2 separate regions of the Homo sapiens genome follow, and region 1 is linked to region 2. The links are contacts of gene promoters, found by promoter capture Hi-C in blood cells and fetal thymus (Javierre and others, 2016). All regions are on one chromosome and are shown on one strand. The core of a region is centred on a gene start or on the middle of the fragment in contact, and the rest is flanking DNA. Distances in the headings are between cores, read along the strand shown. Region 1 overlaps TCF7L1 (transcription factor 7 like 1). Region 2 holds the start of TCF7L1 (transcription factor 7 like 1).

Region 1 (6,208 bases), core at 529-3,028, 58 kb before region 2:
TCACTTAGTTTAAACTTGCCAGCTTTGAGACCTGCCTGAGACTTTGGCTCCTCAGCTGTGGAAAGAGCCATGGATGGGGAACTGTTACTGTCTACGCAGATTGGACAAGTCACTTGGCCCTCTGTGCTCTACTCGCCATCACCCACGAGAATAAAAGGACAGGGAAGCCATGGGCATTTTAGCCTGAGTGCTCTACATAAATATCAAGCACAGCAAAGGTGGTCAGTCAGCGGAGTTACAACTAACAAAGCAACCTTTGGCTTCTCCCAGGTATCGATACAATTCATTCAAATGAAAAAATAAGAACTTAATTTTATTGAGTGATTACCCAGTTAGATAAGACAGAGCGGGCACAGTGGCTTATGCCTGTAATCCTGGTGCTTTATGAGGCTGAGGTGGGAGGATTGCTTGAGGCCATGAGTTCAAGACCAGCCTGGGCAACAAAAACTTGGTAGAGAAACAAAAATTTCTCTACAAAAAATTTAAAAAAAATTAGCCAAGGATGGTAGTGCATGCCTGTATCCCACTTACTCGGGAGGCTGAGGCAGGAGGATCACTTGAGCCCAGGAGTTCAAGGTTGCAATGAGCTGTGATCACACCACTGCACTTCAGTGCAGTGCACTTAAAAAAAAAAAAAAAAAGATTAGTTAGGCCAGGTGCCACGGCTCACACGTGTAATCCCAGCACTCTGGGAGGCCGAGGCAGATGGATCACCTGAGGCCAGGAGTTCGAGACCAGCCTGAACAACATGCTGAAAACCCCATCTCTACTAAAAATACAAAAATCAGTTGGGCATACATGCCTGTAATCTCAACTACCCAGGAGGCTGACGCATGAGAATCGCTTGAATCCGGGAGGCGGAGGTTGCAGTGAGCCAACATCACACCACTGCCTGGGCAACAGATCGGGACTCTGTCTCAAAAAAATAAATAAAAAAAAAATAAAATTAGAGCTCTACATGTTTCACATGTATCATCTCATTTAATACATACTGTTTTCACTGCTAGCTCCATTTTGCAGATGACTAGACTGAGTTTGGGGGAGAGGGGCGGTAGCTGACTGATTTGCTCAAGCTCTTTCCAATGCTTAAATTCAGGATTAGAAATGAGGAGGATAGAAAACATGTAGTCATTTGCAAGATGACATATCTTCATTAGGGTGAAATAGGGTAGAAGGAAGCAGACCTCTGAATGGAGACCACTGCCCCTCAGCTAACTGTGGCTGCACCTGCCATCAGGCACAGGGCTACATAGCTGGAACACCCAGCCCTATGCAGCACAGAGTCCCCTTGTCAGAGGACAAATGGATTCTGGGACCATAGTGAAAACAAAAGTGCACTAAGTTCCATGCTGCAAAATGACTTCTCTTGGTGACCTGGAGTTAAATTTTTGTCCCCTCCCTATGAAAAGCTTTATCCTAGGGACTTGAAGATGAAGTTTCTTCCCTTTGTAGGAAGTTGGTCACATCCAATGAGGAAATAAAATAAACTTCTTTTTTTTTTTTTTTTGAGATGGAGTTTCACTCTTGTTGCCCAGGCTGGAGTGCAGTGACAAAATCTCAGCTCACTGCAACCTCTGCCTTCCAGCTGCAAGCGATTCTCCTGCCTCAGCCTTCCGAGTAGCTGGGATTACAGGCACCTGCCACCACACCCACCTAATCTTTGTATTTTTAGTAGAGACAGAGTTTCACCACGTTGATCAGGCTGGTCTCGAACTCCTGACCTCGTGATCTGCCCTCCTCAGCCTCCGAAAGTGCTGGGATTACAGGCATGAGTCACGTGCCAAGGAAATCAACTTCTAAATGCACTAAACAGAGTAGTACAGAGCACACAGCATGCAAATACTAACTAACCCTATGAGAGGTGCCATCCCACTTCTATACCATTGCATAGTGCAGGGAGCTGAGGCCAGGCAGGGTTTGGTGATCTGGCCTGGGCTGGCACCAGATCAGGGTCTGTGAGATGTCACATAGCACCTGTGCCTAACAGAAGAAGCTGGCGGGACCAGAGGGTTTGAAACCAATGTCATGTTAAGTGGTTCTACATCCCTCCCTTAGCCATGGGGCAACCTAACTCCTTCCTTGGGAGGAAGGCCATGCAGTGGGTTTGTGATCACCTCCCCAGGGTATGTGACAAGTAGGAAAGCTTTTCCCTATCTGTCCTCAGCACTGATACCACCACTCGGCACTGGCAGCTTGGCAAGTGTTTCTATATTGTGTGCTGCGTTTCTCCAAATAAGTTATAAGGCTCTTAAAGACTAGTAGAGGTATTTTTCCTTTTCTTCCTTCTTTCTTAACACTTAAAATTGAAGGAGAAATTATAAAGATAACTCAGTTCACTGCACCAGAGTCATTAATGCTGGCAGCAGCCCTCGCCTCAGTTGCTAAGAGCCTAAGCCCCCGTTTCCACTGAAGCTCTGCCACTCACCTTGGGAAGCCACTTAATATTTCTGAGCCTCAGGTATTGCGTCCATAAATGGGAATAATAACCTTTCCTACCTTAAAATGCCTGCAGCACTTACCACTCATACGTGGGTGTATATAACAACAGAACAGCTTAAGTCAGTGAAGTATTATGTACAAAGCTCTTAGTCCAGTAAGTTCCCAATAAATAGAAGATTCTACTATCTCTTTGGCTACTACTGTGACTGCTGCTGCTGTGATCCTTAAACACAATTTTGTAAAACTAAGAAACACAAAGGCTCCTTAGCATCTTGGCCTGTGCTTTTCATTCCCCCATGTTCCTAGGTCAGTCATCAGGTGCCAGAGGTTCCCAGGGTGTTGGCTGCCATATGGTAAGTGTCCATGAAGTCCATTCTCCCATCTCCACATCTACCACCAACTGGTTCCAAGTCAGCACCAGGTCCTGCCCTTTCCTGCAAACCAGCCACCCAAGACTGGCCTCTGCAGAGGCCTATGGTGCTCCTTACTCAGCCTCTCAAATTCCAAATGCAGATCCCTGGCCATCAGCACTCTGTTCTACGGCAACTTCCCACCTTGAAAATGTCCTTCGTCCCTCCAAGATCTCAAAGTCTACTCTCCTTGACCTAAGAGGTGAGCCCAGTCTTTTCAGTAAGGTGATCACACCCCAAGAGGCAAAATATTCTGTGGCCTCTTCAAAGGACAGTAAAGTACATCAGTGTGCCTGGGGCTATATGAAAGGAGCAGCAATGTAGTTCACTCCTTCAACAAGGACTTACTGAGTGCCTCAGGTATGTGGGACTATAAAGATAAAGAAGACAAGGTCTCTACCCTTAAGCAGGGGCTCCAAGAGGTGTACACAAAGATAAAAGCTGAAGGTCAGGACCAAAGATAAGCCCTAGCAGCCCTGAACTTGCTCATTCCCAGCTCACTGCAAGGTATTCCCACCCCTCCCTTCCAGAGGCTCCAAGTGCACAGAATGAATGAACCCCAAGTGGCTGTCCAGTGTCATTCCTCTGGGCTCACTCCCGGGCCCTGGGCTTCTCCAAACAATTGGAGGCAGGCCGAGTGGGCGCATTCTCATGTGCAAGGCTCGCAGCGCCCCTCTCAGCTGATTGTGTCCAGGCGGCCGGGGTCTCGGAGGCGCATGAATGCCCCTGAATGGGCCCTTTCAGCCTGATGGACAGGAGCTGAAAGCTGCACACACACAAAAGCCACTGGGCAGCTGGGAGGGCTCCAGCCCCGGGGTTTGCCCACGGGAAGGGAGGCCGTCCTTCCACAAAGAGCAGTGTGAAGACTTCTCCACTTTTCAATGGCATCCTCTGGCCGCCAACTGTACAGCACCCCTACCCCCACCCCTGATGGTGGTAACAGCAGCAGAGGATGGCACTACATGGAGAAGCCTTAGAGGGCTAGAGGCAGAAATTAAAATCCAACAAATAAATAACAGAATGCCCTTTTCTTTAAGAGCAGGATGGGGATCTGAGCCAAAGGCCCTGAAGGGCGCCTCCATGTGCCCATCATGTACATCTGTAAGCAGCATTCCTGACACCCACAGTGATCTTTAAGGACACAGACTGACCTGAGATTGTCTAACATGTCACCAAGAAAAATGATCTCGAAAGGACACGGCCAATATTTAAATCAGGAATGGAGAGTCCCAATTCTTGTGTCACTCACTTGGTATATTCCAGGAAAAAAAAAATCCCCGAAGCGACACTTGTATTTTTAAATAGGACCAGGAAGGGGAGAATCACCCATCTGGAATTCTTTTAATTGCTTCGGGGGGAAGGGCAGCCTCCACCAGTTGGAGGAGCAGAGAAGTCTATTTACACTGTTGCACACAAATATTTTAAGTTCACAGTCAGGTGGCTACTTTGGAAGGGACGATGCTCTGCTTCTGAGATCACATTACTTTAGAAACACCCCCCCAAAAAGATAATTAAAGATAGTTCCTCCTCATAATGCAATACTATAAGGAGCAATTAAAATTAAATTAGCTTGTCATAATAAAAAAGATGGATTATGTTCTTAGGCTTCCCAACCCGGAGTTAGTAATTCATGGAGAGAAGCCTGTGACCAAGTAGCAGTTTTACTAAGGAAATATTAAACATTCAGACCACTTTTGTGAGTGGACCAAGATACCAGGGAGATACATACCCTGGCATAATTATTGCTTTTGTTTACATTTATTTTATTTTTTAAATAATGGAATGATTCAAACACATAATAAAGGACAGGGAAAAACACAACAAATAAAATCCATCATCCTAAATTCACAAATGTTAACATTTTGTTATGTTTGCTTCAAGACCAGGTTTTTCTAAACAAATAAAATGTTATGAAATCAGATGAAGCCTCCTTTTGCAGAGGCAACTGTATGTCCATATTTTTACAGGTTTGCCATTCTTGATGTGACATAAACAGAATGTAATATTGTTTTAACTTTTTATTTCAAAATGATTATAGATTCATAGGAAGTTGGAAAAAAAGTGTACAGGGAGGTTCCAAGCATCTAGCCTAGCCTCCCCCGATGTTAACGTCTTGCATAGCTAACTAGCATGCTATCAAAACTAGGATATTGAGATTGGCACACTCCACAGAACTTTCTCAGATTTCACCAGTTTTACAAACACTCGTGTGTGTGTGTGTATGTGTAGCCCTATGTAATTTTGTCACATGTGTAGCTTTGTGTAACAACCACAATCAAAATACTAAACTGTACCATTACCACCAGATTCTCTCATGCTACCCCTTTTGAGCAACACCTATCCCTTATTCCCCTCATCCCTAGCACCTGGCAACCACTCATCTGTTCCCCCTCGCTATAATTTTGTCATTTCACGAATGTTATATAAATGGCAAATGCAGTATATAACCTTTGGAGACTGACTTTTTCGTTCAGCATCATTTCCTTGAGGCTCGCCTATATTGTTGCATGTGATCAATAATTTTTTCTTTTTTATTGCTGTATTCCATGGTATAGATATACCACAGTTTGGTCAACCATACACCACTGAAGAACATCTGGATAGTTTCCAGATTGAGGCTATTTTGAATGAAGGTGTTATGAACATTCACATGTATAAGTTTCCTTGTGAACATAAGAGAAAGGCCCTAGAAGAGCCAAAACTATTTTGAAAAAGAATAAAGGAATCTCTCTTCCCAGTGTTAAGGCTTACTATATAGCTCCAGTAACTGTGACAGCATGGTCTTGGTAGAGGGCTAGACATGGAGATCAATGGAACACAATAGAGAACACAAATTGCCCACTTGCTTTTTTACAAAGGTGTAAAAACAATTCAATGGTGAGAGGTAGTCCTTTCAACAAAGTGTGCTACAGCAAGTGGACATCTACAGGAGGGGGAAAAAAATCAACCTCAACCTAAACATTACACCTTATATGAAAAGTAACTCAAAATGGATCTTAAATGTAAGACTTAAGACTTCAATGTAAAACACAAAACTATACAACTTTTAGCAAGAAACACAGGGCACATGAGGACATCTGAGTTCTATAATTCTGGGTACACCAGGAAGAGTCTCTTTCCTTAACATCTCCCCATCTAGTCTGTCCCAGATGACTGAAATTCCGCTATTAGACAGTCATACCTTTGGCTTAAAGGCTCATCCAGAAAATTCTTCTGGGAGAGATAAGAAATGAGAGCTTTGAATCTTGGGGTGAATCAGAGTATCAGGTCTTCTTTAGCTGACAGCTGAGAGGAGGATCTAAAAGGAAGTGAAATGAAAAGGGCACTTGGAGAATGAATGAGGGTGGGAGGGGTAAGAG
Region 2 (5,984 bases), core at 2,303-4,802:
CTGGGAAACCAACAGAGGGCCACTTTGTCTGTACCTACCATTTGCCTACAGTGACAATTATCTTAATTATATTAATAGAATCGTTCAGCAGAAAACCATCATCTCCACCCTATAGTCCAGACAACCAAGTGCTTAAGTGTTTCCTCACTTGCTTTACTTACTGGCAGCAAACGAACAGGGTCAAATTAGGTTTAACTGTGCTGACCTAAGGGCAGGACACTTCCCCAGTATATCCGTGAACTAACACAGCGAAAGGCACACAGAGACACAGAAACACTGGGAACTGAACTAACTTCTGTAAGGGCAAGTCACCAGGGAGACAAGATGTAGGTATGGGGGTGGGATGGGACATACTAAGTCCCCAAGAAAGTACATGTCCTAGGAGGCTTGAAAGGAGGCTGGTGCCTGGGCCAGGGCAGGGAACAACTGCAGAGATGAACAAGGACAGTCAGAGAGGCATGCAGAGACGAAAGGTTGGCTGCCTCAAGGAGGGGCTCCAAAATCCCACACGGGCCTGGATTTAGTAATCAGGAATCTCCAGGATCAGCAAGAATCAGCCTTTGGAAGTTCTTAGGCGAAAGAACACATAATGTGATAGAAGGAAGGAAGGAGGGGACACTAACAAAAATCTGTCTCACTTGGACTGTCAGAGAGAGCAGACAGCAGAGCCTGGATGAATCAAAATGCCCTAAAGAGAAATGGGTGCATGGAGAAATAGCCTTGAGGGAGCCATAGTCATATTTGATGGTGAAATAGTCATTTCTGGTGACTTTAACTGCATCAGGACTTGGCTGAGGGCTGATGCACAGATGCTAGTGCCTCCCAGACCCCTCTCTCTAGATATCCTAATAGTAAATGGAAACCTGAGACTTTAGCGGCATTAACTCTCCCCCATACGCAAAGTTACACGAATCCCAACAAAACTTGCAGAACTAAGCTACATGTGTGGGCACTGGTGGGAATCACTGAAAACCTAAATAAGACCGCAGCAGCTCGTTGATCCCCCCCCCCCTTTGATTGGCACGCACCTCTTTTCTTTTAATGAGAAAAAGCAACAGCCATAGACCCACATCCAGTTTTCACTGCAAAACTGACACTTACATTCAGGACTTCCTGGGGTGCTCCAGGCCAGCAGGGCCAAAGCTGCAAGACCTCCCTCCCTCTCGGGGCAAAACTGTGAGGTCTGTGTAGTCCCACTCCCCATTCCCCTCTCTCTCAGTCAGAGTCTCTTCCACCGCCCCCCGTCAATCCCCCTCCAACCCATCTGGTGATGGTAGCGCCCCCGCTGAACCAAATGTGGAGGACTTGGCTCTCCACCGACCGCTGTACAATGACAGCAGGAATGGCCATTCAGCACCTAGCCTTTCTCTAGCACCCTTTAATTATCGTCGTTATTTTAGGGCAGTCTTAGCATAAAGTGTGTTGCTGGGACCCTGCTCCTAAGAGGCTAACACTCCCTGCCCCCTTACCCACCGTCGACAGCGAAGTGGCAGGCAATGGGAATCTGGGCGGGAAGCAAAGAACTACTACGATTCACATCGCGCCCAAGCAGCAGCACGCGGGAACCTGGCACACAGTAGGTAGGCGTTCACCCAACATCTGTCATCGGACCCAGCACCTGGGCAGGGAGCCTAGGGGTGGAGTGGCGGCTTGGGGGACACAAAGGCCTCGCCAGCCCCCAGCTGCGCCCCTCGCAACGCGGGGGGCGGGAGTTTAGAGCCAGAGAGAGGGGGCGAAGGAATCCGCCCTCATTTGCACGTCGTCTGGGGCCCGGTCAATTTGCTTAATCACCGCTCTAAATGCCAGCGGGCAGCACACAATACGCGCCCATTAACAGGTTTAAAGTGTCGCAGCGCTCGCTTTAAATGAGAAAAGCAGGCGACAAAAGGGGGAAAAAGCCAAGTTCCTCAACTTGAAGAATGCCTTGGGTCGCCTCGAAATCATCTACGCGAGTTTAAAATTCGGAGCTAGCTCCGCAGAAAAGCTGAGGCCCCGGTGCGAGGGCTGGGGGTGGGAACGGGGGCTGTGAATAACCCGCCACGAAAACTGGGTTTCTTAGGAACCAGCCTGCAGCCGCCCAGTGAACCCGGAGTCGGAGGACAACGTCGCCAACCCAGCTCCCTAGGCCCCTTGCCCCACTGCCAGAGAAAGCTGACCGATTTCCAAGAAGGAAAGCGAGACCCCCCCAAAGCGGGCACAAATCCAAGTTTCCTTCGGTGCAGGCGAAGAATTCTGGAGGCCAAGGAAGATCCCAGAGGTGGACTCCAAAACCTCAACCCGCAAGAGGGGAAAAGTTAAAGTAACTTTACTTTCATCCAGGCACTGGCCAGCGCAGCCTCGCGCTCGGCCGCCAGAGAGTAGTTCAACTCCGCAAACAAGTTCTGCTTGGGATCGGCGCAGAAGGCCCCATCCCCCACTCCATGGCCAAGCCCGGGGGCGCATCCTGCGGGCCGCGGCCTCCCACCCTCCCCGGCGCGCCCGACGGGCACTCACGGTGCGCGCTCCTCCGGGAGACAGGGGTCCGTTGGAGAGGTACGGGCTGCTCAGGTCCGGGATCATCAGGAAGGGGTACCCAGGGTACGGGGGTCCTTTAAAGAACGCGCTGTCCTGAGGCCTTCTCACTGCGAACAAGACCAAGGCGAGGTGAGGCCCAGGCCCCCGGGACTGACAGCGCCGCGGCAGGGGGCTCGAGGCGGGAGCTGGGGACCCCAGCGCCCCCCACGCGCGCCCCACGGGGGCTGCCGCCAATAAAGGCGGAGGGCAAGGGTGCGTCCACCCAAGCAAGGGGGACGGTGGGCCGCCCGGGCTGAGCAGCGGAGCGCAGCGGGAATCGAGAGTGGGGGGCTGTCCCAGCGGGCACATACCTTCGGCGAAATAGTCCCGCGGCTTCTGGAAAGTGTCCCGGACGGGCTGCGGGCGCCTCTCCGCCTGCGGAGGAGACACAAAGGCAAGAGCGGGTGAGCGGACGCAGGGCCGGGATCCCCCGGGGGTGGCCGCGGTGCTTCCTTACCTCCGAGTCCGAGCTGCTGCTCTGGTTCTCCGACTCGTTGACCAGGGACGACTTGACCTCGTCTAGGTCCCGCTGCGCCGAGGCGCTATCGCTGCTCGGCTCCTGCTCCTCGCCCCCCTCGTCCTGGAAGGGGATCAGCTCGTCGTTCGCCCCGAGGTCGTCCCCTCCGCCGGCCGCCCCGGCGCTGGAGCCGCCGCCTCCCCCGCTGCCGCCGCCGCCGCCGCCGCCCCCGCCGCCGAGCTGGGGCATGGTGGGGCCGCGGGCCGGGGCCGCCGCTCTCGGAGCCCCTAGCCGCCCGCGCCCTGCCCGGCCCGGCCCGGCGCCCCTCCCGCCCGCTTGCGGGCCCGCTGCGCTAGCCGCCGCAACAAAGTTTGACAGGGCGTGGCCCCGCGGGAAGCGGGCCCGGCGCTGCCCGGCCGGGGCGCAGGCGGCTCGGCTCGGGCCCCTCCGGCAGCGCCGAGCCTAGGGCTCCCCAACTCGCCACCGCCGCCGCCTGCTCCGCCGGGGCGTCCCAGCCCCTGGCCCGCCGGGGAGGGGCGAGCGGGGAGGGAGGGAGGAGGGACCGCCGGGCTGGGCAGGGGGGCCGGAGGGAGGAGCCCCGGCTGCAAGCTGACACCCGCGCGCCTCGCGGAACCCGGAGAGCTGCGGTGCGCGCGCACACACACACATACACACGCACTCACACTCACACGTTCACACTCGCATCTTCCAGGGGCTGCGTCTCCCTGCAACGTGCACCGCCCCCAACCCCCTCCTGCGCCTCACACTGCACCCTCGGCGGCCCTCCCCACGGCCTCCCTGGAGTCCTGGAAGTCTTGCGCCCACCCCTCCGCATCCCCTAACTTTCTCCCAAAGAACCTCCAGAACTCCGCGCAGGTTCCCACCCCCTCCCACCGTATCGGCGCGCGGGCGGGCGGCACTGCCCCCTGCGGGAAAGCCTCGGACGCACATACTGGCCGCGGGGCCCTCCCCCTGCCTAGAGTCCCTCCGAGTGCGCGAGCTGATGCACGGACTAGGACACTGGGGACATCTATGGAACCCCGGAAAATGCCCGGCGGCTTTCCGCGCCTTTTTCCTGTGGGGTTCCAACGCGACCCCCGGCCCAGGTTTTCAACCTTGTACAGATATACAGATTTCCCTGCTGAAATCTTGAAGATCACCTTTTCTTCATTGTTTGGGACTAGGTCCTAAATCGAAAAATCGCGGTCTTGGGTTCCAAAAGAATTTGGATTTGGTTCATTGAGAGGGAAAATTGCCTGTCCAGTGATCTCCGAAGCCATTCACAAAGCTGCGTGAGTAGCCAGTGAACACGAGAAAAATGCTCAACCAGCCTCATACCTAAGTAATGCCTGTGGTGCGAGCGCCACGGCCCGCGCCTGGAGTTCCATCTACTCCCGAGGCCTAGGCAGGAGGATCGCTGGAGCCCAGGAGTTTGAGACCAGCCTGGGCAACATAGCAAGACCTTGTCTCCAAAAAAAAAATTTTTTTAATAAAGAAATGCCTGTTACAATGACATTAAGATGTCGTTTCTCTCCAACCTGTGCGGGAAAGTTTGAGGAAAATGAATATCTTGTGTTATCCTCCGTGGGGAACTATTAGAGCATAAACTTTGAAAACAGCTTGGAAGGCAGTATGGAACTATGTAAAACTATTTTCAGCCCAACTGGCAGAAGAGTTTCTACAGAGGTGCCCGCACATATGGGCAAAGCCACATATGCTAGGTTCAAAGCATCAGAGAGCTTGGTGACATGCATTCTTCATCTTTCTTTACAGTGACAGTCCATGCAGCTGGCCAGTTCTATGCAGTGTCCCCGCCCCTCCCCCCACCCATACACACACACACACACACACACACACACACACACACACACACACACACAGGCACATGGACCAAGATTGATTTTGGAGGAACATCTTTAAATGAAACACTATATATGACACTCACTATTTTATTTTTGTTTTTAAAAAAATTATACACATTTATTTCTGCGTAGAAAAAAATCTGAGAAGATGCAAATTATTATCAATGACTATTTCTGGGAAAGGATAAGTGAAAGGAGATAGTTTTCTGGTTTCTATGAACTTTATAACAAGCAGATATGCCTTTTCTAATTTTTTACACAATACATGAGTACAGTCTCATAAAGCGTTTTCAAATAACAGATGTATCTTGAGCAGTATCGAGTAACAAGTAAAAGTTCCTCTTTCCCCCTCAGGACACAGGACCCTTCTAATTAACCACTTTCAGTTAACTGCCTCTGGTTAACCACTGTCACTAGTTTGGTATATATCCTTCCAGACACTTTCCTAGGCAGTTATGAACATATGTAAACGTATTTACAGATATTCTGATGTACATACATAGAATCATACTCTTTGTATTATTGTGTGTTATTTTATTTTTATAAGATTTAAAAGTCAGACGATTTTTCATGTTTATGGTCCATAAATATATGAAAAACCTATTGTACTAGTTTTCTGCTGCTACTGTCACAAATCACGAAAACTTGGTGGCTTAAAACAACAGAAGTTTATCCTCTCATAGTTGTGGAAGACAGAAGTCCACTGTCAGTTTCACTGAGTAGAAATGGAGGTGTTGACGGGGCCATGCTCCCTCTGGAGGCTCCGAAAAGAATCTACCCTTGTCTCTTGCAGCTTCTGGGGGCTTGTGACCACATCACTCCCACCCTTGCGTCTGTAATCACATTGCCTTCTCCTTTTTTTGTCTGTGACAAATTTTCCTCTGCCCCCTTCTTGTAAGAAACCATACTTGTGGCCGGGCACAGTGGCTCACGCCTGTAATCCCAGCTCTTTGGGAAACCAAGGCAGGTGGATCACGAGGTCAGGAGTTCCAGACCAGCCTGGCCAACATGGTGAAACCCTGTCTCTACCAAAAATACAAAAAATTGGCCAGGTGTGGTGGCAGGCGCCTGTAATCCCCGCTACTTGGGAGGCTGAGGCAGGAGAATCGCTT

The links. The method cuts DNA at HindIII sites, captures the fragments that hold promoters and counts their contacts. A CHiCAGO score of 5 or more calls a contact.
Region 1: a fragment that was not itself captured here is called in contact with the fragment with the promoter of TCF7L1 in region 2 in 1 of 17 cell types (endothelial precursors); the score reaches 5.8 in endothelial precursors.

The regions. Positions count from the first base shown.
Region 1 is chr2:85,187,125-85,193,332 of GRCh38, reverse strand. The region is part of intron 3 of TCF7L1 (transcription factor 7 like 1); the gene reads right to left. TCF7L1-IT1 (TCF7L1 intronic transcript 1) reads right to left here. Exons shown (of 2, transcript NR_046797.1): 2 at 6,080-6,147. Among named protein-coding and RNA genes, the nearest start is that of TCF7L1-IT1, 3.8 kb to the right of the region's middle. RefSeq lists an enhancer at 3,041-3,542. The HindIII fragment of the contact is 734 bases long and covers 1,412-2,145 here.
Region 2 is chr2:85,130,960-85,136,943 of GRCh38, reverse strand. TCF7L1 (transcription factor 7 like 1) reads right to left here and starts at 3,552. Exons shown (of 12, transcript NM_031283.3): 1 at 3,011-3,552; 2 at 2,865-2,928; 3 at 2,494-2,621. The coding sequence starts at 3,259. RefSeq lists enhancers at 1,219-1,792, 1,793-2,367, 2,943-3,517 and a silencer at 3,883-3,952. The HindIII fragment of the contact is 24,991 bases long and covers 1-5,984 here.